2 separate regions of the Homo sapiens genome follow, and region 1 is linked to region 2. Evidence: promoter capture Hi-C in 16 types of primary human blood cells and fetal thymus (Javierre and others, 2016). All regions are on one chromosome and are shown on one strand. The core of a region is centred on a gene start or on the middle of the fragment in contact, and the rest is flanking DNA. Distances in the headings are between cores, read along the strand shown.

Region 1 (4,409 bases), core at 1,145-3,644, about 120 Mb after region 2:
TAACAAATCTTTTAAGTCCTCACTTAATTTTCAATGATAGGTTCTTGGAAACTTCGATTTTAACTGATTTTAGTTGAAACAACCTATAATGAAAACAATTTTCCTCCTTATCAGTGTTACAGTGAAACAACTTTATTGTCAGTTTGCCAAAGGTTAGTTTCCAAGAACCACAAGGGATGTTAAGTGAGGACTTAATATATTTGCATGAAACAAGAGAAATTGCAGACTATTTTCTATGACAAATTACAAATTGGGAAATCTCGATTAATGAGATATTATACAAATGCTTTATTTAAATAGGTCTCAGTGTTTTACATGACCTCTTCCTATCCCCAAACCTACTGTTGTAGTCTGGCTAACTCCTTCTCATCCTTTGAGATTCAGATCAATTCTATTTTGGGGAAGCTTTCTTGCACTGCTAAACCAGAGTTAGCTGCCCTCTGTGATTCCACAGCACTATGTGCATGGCTTTCTCACAGCAATTACAATTCTGTATTGCTATTATCTGGTTTCCTCCATTACATAATAGCTTCAAACATGTATTATTGATCTATATGACCACCCAGGATCCAGCACAGTAGTAGGTAGTCTGTAATTGTTGGGAAAATGAATGAATGTATTCCCATGTGCATAACAAAACAAAGAGCAGAATTTCATTTTAATGTGCTTAAAAAAAGAGAAAAAAAGCTTTCCTATTTCTTTTCAATTTAGTTTGTAGGAAGTCTGTTAGGACAATGTTAGGAAAATAAATTTACTTGCTTACAAAAACTAAGTATCTAGAGATCCCTGTATAAACTGCTAGGATAAAGAAAGGTTTTTACAATAGATATTTTCCTGGCACTTGTTTTATATAGTTGACCCTGAACACAGGATTAAACTGTGTGGATCCACTTATACTTGAATATACTTCTGCCTCTGCCACTCCCAGACAGTAAGACAATCCCTCCTTTTCAGCCCACTCAACATGAAAACTATGAAGATGAAGACCTTTATGATAATCCACTTCCAATTAATGAAGAGTCAATTATTTTCTCTTCCTTATAATTTTCTTGATAACATTTCCTTTTCTTTATTGTAAGAATACAGGATATAATACATTTAACACCCAAAATATGTGTTAACTGATAATTATGTTATCAGTAAGACTTCCAGTCAACAGTAGGCTATTAGTAGTTAAGTTGTTGGGGAGTCAAAAGTTATATGCAAACTTCTGACTGCCTGCAGAACCAGCACCCCTAACCCCCACATTGCTCAAGGGTCAACTGTACCTTCTATTAACGTTAACCAAACTGACAGGCATTTCAAAGTATCTTGAACATTTTTAAAATTAAGGTTTTCTTTCCCCCTGGTGTTCTACACATTCAGAGAAACTTCTCTATCTAGTAACAAACTATAGAAATAATCTCTGAAAGTGTAGTCTTAAAATTAAGTTTTTGATAAAGGATATTCCTCTGGTTACTACTTCAAGGGCTGGAGGGAGCTATAAAATATGACAGCCTTTTCACTTTGGCCAGAGGTTCCCACAAGATAACCTACCCAGAAGAAATATATTCTATCAAACCACTGGGCCAACATATGGCAAATCATAAACTTTGACATCTCTTTTCTCCTATACAGCCTCCTTGAACCAAATTTTTCTCTGTACAGTCTTCAAACTATACGGACAGAGAATCCTAGAAGTGGCTCAAAAATAATATAAATTTTATGTGCTTGGTTAGGCCACATGTATTTCCCAAAGCCAAAAGAAATCACACAGAACAGGAAAATGGAATCCAAGTATATTCAGTCCTTCTTACTTAGCATACATAAAAATGGCAATATTTTCACAGAAAAGGTAAAAATGCACACCATCTGATGCTTACCTTTCCTGCACCCATAAGTCTCAAGAACTTTTGTTTTCTCTCTTCATTACCCAAGTCTGCTGCCTCCCAATTGCTAGATCCCAGCTAGAAAAAAAATTGGTTGATTAAATTTTTTTTGCATAAAAATAAGTATTACGAAATCTAAAGTCTACCTGTAACTCTCAAGTTTTTTTCCCCTGTCAGTTGTAACTATAAACAGCGTTCATTTTTCTTGCTTAGGAAGTTAAGCATATTCATCACATTCAAATTTACTCCTTTTCTATTACCTCACAGCAGAATCCTTTAGTTCTCCTACAGCCAGAGCTGAGTCTCAAAAGTTTGCCTCTATCAGCGTCACCTAGAGGGCTTGTTAAAACAGACTGCAGGGCTACAGCCCCAGAGATTCAGCGGGTCTGGGGTGGAGCTCTAGGATTTGAATTTCAACAAATTCTTAAATGATTGCTGATGCTATTTATCTGGGGACCACACTTTGAGACCCACTGCCTCGCAGGGTAGGGTCCTAGAGCACCTAGTACTCTGAACTTAGATGGCAGCCACAGTTGTTAGTTGAAGTTAAAAATTCTGCCTTTATCAGTGAGCTAACTTTTAAGAGAGAAAATTTTAACTTTTCAGTTGCCTTTTTTTTTTTTTTTTTAGCAGTTCTAGTTACTTGTTAGGATTGAGATGTCATTACTTTTATTCTTTCTTAAAAGTCTTCCAAAGAACAAAGAGAAAACTTATTTTTTAAAAGAACAGACTAAAACTCATGCTATCTTGCAATTATCAAATGAGTCCACTGAACTCTTATAAATCTAAGAAATATGATGGAATCCTAGTGAGCGTATTTTTTCCCTACATTTTGAAACAAATGTAAAAACTGTTGTTTTTTAATAGTTTTTAATAGTTCATTATTTATAATTCATTATTTATAATTCATTATTCTCAACTATGCTAAAAATAACTAAATAGTTTTTAAGATATTAGTTTTCTCATTGTATTGTCCAAAGTATTTCATCATCATCTTTCAAGACATCATACCTGTTGTCTACTTTTAGCTTTCACTGAACACCGATGGGAATTCACAATTTTTCATTTTCCATTCATAATGGCAAAGAGAAAAAACTGACAGAAGGCATTAATCATTATTAGACGAAGAAGGTGAATGCAAAATGAAAGGCAGTCGTATTCTAGACTAATCATGATAAAATTAACTGCAAAAATCTCAGACTATGAGTTTTTGGATGAGGAAATATTAGAAGGCTTTTCTCCCACCCAAGAATTGACAAGAAAAAGAAAAAAAAGACAAACAAGAAATGTACTCTCACTGGGAGAGCCATCAGCAGGAAGGACTTCATCTTGCAATATTTCACAGTAAGAGCCAGGATCATCCCATTTTCTAAAAGGAGGTGTGAGTGTTTTATCTCATCTTTTACAATGTTTATGCATCAAAATTTACTTGATTTGGTTGCAAATGGACAAAGGGTGAAGGCAGATGTGTACACAAGGTGACTGGAAGGAAAATGAAATAAAAATATTCACCGAATTTATCATTCTAATTAAGTTTATAATCTAAAAATAAAAATGTTTTGCAATTATGGAGCAAGGATGACAATTACAAAATTGTAAGCAATAGGTTTCAAAAATTCCTCAAGTATTGTATTTTGATGATGCAAATCCGAGACAGGTTTGAACTTCAAGGGTCCCTTATAAGTGGATTTTTTTCAACCAAATGCAGATCCATCCCAAGTATATGGAAGGCTGATTTTTCCTATTCTCAGGTTCCACAGGGCTGGCTGCAGAACTTGAGTATGCAAGATTTGCCAAAGAGGTGGGTGGGTCCTGGAACCAATCCCCCACATTTAGCATACTGAAGGATGACTATATGTACATCAAAATCAGGAAAACAAAGAATATAAATTTCGGTTTGCTATTGTTAAATTCACATTAAAATTCCTAATAAAGTTGTTTTGCACTATCTCCCATTATTATTTCTAAAAATTATTTGTAAAAGACTAAAAGAATATTTAAAAAAACCACTATTTCCCCTGGGCATATGAGAGTTAAAGCATTTGTACCAACCTGGACCCATTTGCACTTCTAAATTCTCATTAGTGGAAGGGCTTATATGCTCTCATAATTTTGGTTCCCTAAGTTCCAAATCTCTACTTTTTTCCATGTGACCCCCCTCATATATTTTTATGGGCCATTTAGTTCTTAACTATTTCTGGCTCAATATAGTTAAAGTAATGGTGAAGCTTCAGTTCTGACAATCACTAAATCACTTGCTCTGTAAGCCAGGATCTGACATTTAACTTAATTTTAACTCCTTATCTATAAAGAGATGCCTTTTTAAAAGACTGTCTTAAGACACTGAGGCACAGAGAGGCTAAGTGACTTCCTTTGATCCTCTGACCATCCTGTGTTTTTTCCACATCATACTGTCCATGATCAAATGAGACAGATGAAAGTGGTCTATGAACTAGTTATAAAAATGTATAGAAGTTAAAAAATTGTGTAAAAACCAACTTTCTTGATTCTGCTTCTATTAAAAAACATTTTCAGTGTTTA
Region 2 (4,734 bases), core at 323-2,822:
CAAGTTATGCATCTTGAGTGTGTTTGCACAGGTGGAGGGGTGGGTAGGGTAGAAGGTTATTCAACAGTCCTGGTTCTCTGGATCTATCCAGGCCCTCGACCTTTATCCATGTGCTCACTGACTGCTCTGTTGGGGGCCTCTTTCTGCCTCCCAGCTGGCGGTGAGCTAAGAGGCTTCCGGTGTCAGGGAATGCTCCACCTCCGGTGTTCAAGGCCACTTTTTGTGCATGTGTGTGTACCTGTGTGCACGCTTTCCCAGAAGCAAGTCTCCTTCTTGTTGTTTTGGGAGCTTCATGTCCTGGAGCCAGGGCTTTGTGGCTAACGAGTGCTTTGAGAGGATGAAATTCCTGAGCTCTCGCTCGCTGACCCTCTGCCTTCCTTCCTTGGCCAACAGCCCATCCCAGGGAGCGGTGTGATTCTTACCACTGCCTTCACTCCTTGAAAGAACAAACATCTTCACTGCAGCCTCTGAGCGCTGGTGTGAGGTGATTGTTTGTAGTAGATGTTTCCATGACACTCATTTATTTCTTCTGCAAATACAACTGTATTGGGGGAGGGGAAGCAGACAGGCTAGGGTAGGGAGACTGGAACATACGAAGACCTTCCAGTTTCCTATTTACATTCCTCTGTAGGATGAGAAGCTCCTTCCCTTTCCCTGGGTCTCCTCCATCCCAGACTCCTAAAGCTTCCCCCAAACCCATCTTGGTTTCATGCGGCCGAGTCGGGGCTGGGCTCCGAGTAAGGTGGAGAGGGGAGGAACCATGTGCGTGAGGAAGCAGCCTTTATCAGGAGAAGTGGGAAAAAGACCCAACTTTGACTGCTTGGAGTCGGGATTCAGTAATGATGAGCAGCAGTGACCAGCACTGGGGGTGGAGTGTGTGTGCACGAGTGTTCCTGAGGGGTCTGTGGCACTTCGCAGCTGAGCCAATGACTCACTCTAAATCTTAGCGACTTTGAGAGGTCATTTTAGTCATCCCCCGGTCTGCATCACGTTTGGAGGGGGTGGTGCGCTGCTCTGGGGACGTGTCTGGGTGCGGAGGGAGACGGGGTGGGGAGGCGGCGCGTGACCTCTTTGAAAAGATCTCCGGCGAAGGACGTTCCCCGGCTCTCCCGGGCCGCCGGCTCCTGGGTTTCCCCATCATAGAATCAGCATGGTCCTCTCGGGAACTGCTTTTTGCCGGATGGAAACCGGATGTTGGGTTCCATGAGTGGGCGGGGGCTCCACTTCCCTCAGACCTGTCCGGGGTAATTGAGACCCGCCAGGGTCCCGTTAGAAGCTACCATTTCCCTCACCAGAAACTTGCCACGCAGTGTGAGCCGAGAGAGAAGCGGGCAGAGACGCTATACCACCTTCTCCCCGGCAATGCGCATGATTCTGCGGCTCTGTGCTCGCCACACTTCAACGCACCTTGAAATGGGCTCGCCTCCTTCGCGCCGCGACGGGCGGAAGGCTGAGCCAATCGGACCCCCGGCTTGCGGGCGGCGCCCAATAGGCGGGCGGCGGGGGCGGTTCCGGAGGCCCGGCCCGGCTAGGCTTCACCGTGGACCTGGCTGCGCTCCGCCCGGGCGAGTAGTGCAGGTGCCGCTGCGCCGGGGCCGGGGAGGCGCGCGCCGAGCCGAGCGGAGCCTAGGAGGGATGGAGAGCTGGCCACCCGGGCTGCAGGAGCACCGGCGCGGGGCGTAGGCGGCGCGAGGCGGGCGCGAGGCGGGCGCTCGGGCGCGAGGCGCGTGCGGGCGCGGGAGCACTTTGCGATAGGATGAGGCTCCGGGCTGGCGCGGTAGTACTATGATTTGGTATGTGGCCACTTTCATAGCAAGTGTGATCGGCACCCGAGGGCTTGCGGCTGAAGGTGAGTTGAAGTGCGGCGTCCCTCCCCTGCCCCTCCCGGCGCCCTCGGCCCCTCGCGCCCGGCCCCTCGGTTTCCCGGCTCCTTGGCCCCCCGGTTCCCCAGCTCCCCGGCGCGCCTTCCCGCGGGTGAGGCTTGGGCTCCGACGCGGGCCAGGCGGCCCGGGAGCATTGCCGGGGAGGGCCTGGGGGCCGTGGGCTGGAGGGGCGGGCGGGAAGGGGCCAGAGCCCACGGGCTGCCGGGCACTCGGGGAAAGGACGCAGTGGAACCTGGGTCGACTTCGCCCACCACGGGCCCCACGGTGCACACCGGCGCGCCTAGCCCGTCGCCTCCTGCCCGGCGGCCGCCTCCCAGAGCTGCGGGAAACTCTGGCTGCGGGAGTTTGCGGTCTCCGGGCAGGCTGCAGCACGCTAGAGCCCCGCGCCGCGAGGAGCGCCTGCAGGGAGGCGCGACCCGGAGGATCCCTGGGACTGGCGGCACCCGCGTCTAAGGCCCCGGGTTCGCGCGGCCCTGCGGGCGTCCATCGCTCCGCTCGCGCCCCTCCTGCCCACACATCTTGGCAGCTGGAGGTCGGATCCCCCTAGCAGGGGCGCCCGGTGAGAGGAGGATTGATGAGGCCAGCTTCGAGGTGTGTCCGCTTTTGGCTGGACCCCGCCGGCCCCCGCGCCTCTCAGCCGCACCTGGGCCCCGGCCAGGCAAAAGTTCCCCGGGAGCGCGCCGCAGCCGCGCGGGCCCCACGCCGCCCTCCCCAGGCTGCGAGGCAGAGCTGGCTGGGGGCGGCGGCGGGGGAGGGGAGGGGCGGGGAAGGGGGGGTCCCCACGCTGTGAATCCGAGCGGAGGGGGGATTTTCTCTTTCCGCTTTCCTGGGTCTGAGCTGGGGGAGACGCAAGGGGGGAGCCACCGAGTTGGGTGATGCGTGCGTGAGCGCGCGGGCTTTTGCTTTGGAGATGGGCAGAGCGACCTACAAGCCTCTGGGTGGCACCCCCGGCTCTCGGCCCTTGTATGGAAGTGGGAGCGGAGCCTGGAGGGTGCCAGGACTGTGAGCTCAGGGCTGTCAGCGCGCAGACACGACCCGGCTGCGGGCAAGTTCACCAAGCCGGAGGAGATGGCGGCGGGAGAGAACCCGCTGTGGGTGGGAGTCAGCAGGCAGGACTCGCCGACAGAGAACCCTCTCCCAGCGGCATGGGGCGCCGGGTGGGCTGGAGGCGCCTCTCACGGGGTCCCCTCGTCACTCGTCTGTGCAGGGGGGCGTGCTTCAGGAAACTTTCCGGAATGGAATGAATATGTCGCCTCTGCTTCTGAGGGGGGTGGTGGTGTCTGAAAACAGAACGAGCAGAGGGCGAAGCGAAGGGTGATTTTGTTAACTGACATGTTGGTCCGGACGGTTTTAAAACTCTTCATTTGTCAGGTGGGAACACTGAGGCAAGGGTGATGGCGGAAGCTTACGGAACGGGGGGTGGATGTGAGGTGCATCGGGCTGCGCTTGACAGTCTGCCTGTAGCCTCATCCTCTCCCCCATTTCCTTGCCGTCTTCCAATGCCCGCATCCTCCTCCCCTCCCGTTTTTGGTATGTTCCTGCTATGGGACTGTCCCTGAAAGCACAAAAGGATGAGCTGGGATCTTTGAATAGAAAAGAGACGCTGAAGGAAGGCTCTGAAATAGCCTCCGAACCTAAGTCAGGGTGGGCAATGGACTTCTTTGCAAGTTTCAGCCCAGAATAAAGGAATGTGAGTTTATACTGCAGCAACACGCAGAATCGCAAGATAGAAGGAAGGGCTTCCCAAAATTGAAGGCTGCCTGGCATGAAGGTTATGCCCTCTTTCAGGGTGCAGAGGGGTCCTTCTGTCTGGAATGGCTGGACATGTACCCCTGTCTGGAAGCAGAGGGTGACCTTGCTGGTCTTGGGGTCTTTCTTAGCCTCAATTGCTCTGTGTGTGGTAGTTAAGGACCTAGGTCTAGAGCCATATGACTGGGATTCAGATTCTGGCTGTGTCACCTGCCGACCCTGTGACCTTGGACAAATTCTCAACCTCTCTAAATGTCACTTGCTTCAATAGAAAATGTGCCAATAGCATGTACTTTTAGGGTTTTTAGGTGGACATGAGTGTTATAAGGAAACAAAACAACTACCTGTTATATAGTACGTGCTCAGTAAACATTAACATTATTTTCTCAGTGTCCCTGGGATTCCAAGATCCTCCTCAATTTCTTTCCCTTGGGCCATTCAGGGCACTAGGAGCTGAGAATGTGTTGCGGGGAAGTTCAGAAGGCTGCCTGTGTCAGGAAGTAAGACCCCTTTCTGGGCTGACCTTGTCTGGGCAGAACCTCTTGTCCCTGGCATCCCAGGGACACGTGTGCAGGATGTGCGGGCCTCAAAGCTGCTCGGAAGTCCTTTGCAAGGTCTCCAAAGCTGGAGTGTTGTTGGTGGCCAGAGGTTTATGGAAGGACACAGCCCGGGAAGTGAGGGCTTGCAACACACAGCCTCTGGAGAGAGCGGGTGGGCGCCCGCTCGTGTGAGCAGCACCAGCCAGTGTCCACATGCTGCTGAGTCTCCCTGTGAGAGCTCAGCTGTTCCCTGACTGGCAGAGGTGACTTCTGGGGCAGTCCCTCAGCAGGAGGGACTTTGAGATGCCACCCTTAGGATTTGGCCATAGCAGGGGCTGCTCTGGCAGAGGGGGAAAGGGATGATGTTGTGTTGGGACCCGACTCCATCAGCCCTCGGGTGCGGGACAGAGGTTGGAATGGGCTCCTCCTTTTGACTTTGAGTGTGTGTGCCTGGGAGGTGATTAAGGTCAGTGGACAGGTTGGGGAAGTGTGGAGAAGAGAGGGGCTGGAGTGGTACCCAGAACCTGGAAGACAGTGATTGGTGTGCACTCAGTATCTCAGAC

What was found. The method cuts DNA at HindIII sites, captures the fragments that hold promoters and counts their contacts. A CHiCAGO score of 5 or more calls a contact.
Region 1: a fragment that was not itself captured here is called in contact with the fragment with the promoter of IGSF9B in region 2 in 1 of 17 cell types (activated CD4 T cells); the score reaches 6.2 in activated CD4 T cells.

What each region holds. Positions count from the first base shown.
Region 1 is chr11:16,742,138-16,746,546 of GRCh38, reverse strand. It overlaps C11orf58 (chromosome 11 open reading frame 58), which reads right to left. Exons shown (of 5, transcript NM_014267.6): 2 at 1,863-1,946. Among named protein-coding and RNA genes, the nearest start is that of C11orf58, 5.7 kb to the right of the region's middle. The HindIII fragment of the contact is 3,409 bases long and covers 690-4,098 here.
Region 2 is chr11:133,953,806-133,958,539 of GRCh38, reverse strand. It overlaps IGSF9B (immunoglobulin superfamily member 9B), which reads left to right and starts at 1,572. Exons shown (of 20, transcript NM_001277285.4): 1 at 1,572-1,849. The coding sequence starts at 1,786. RefSeq lists a silencer at 1,394-1,743. The HindIII fragment of the contact is 2,603 bases long and covers 687-3,289 here.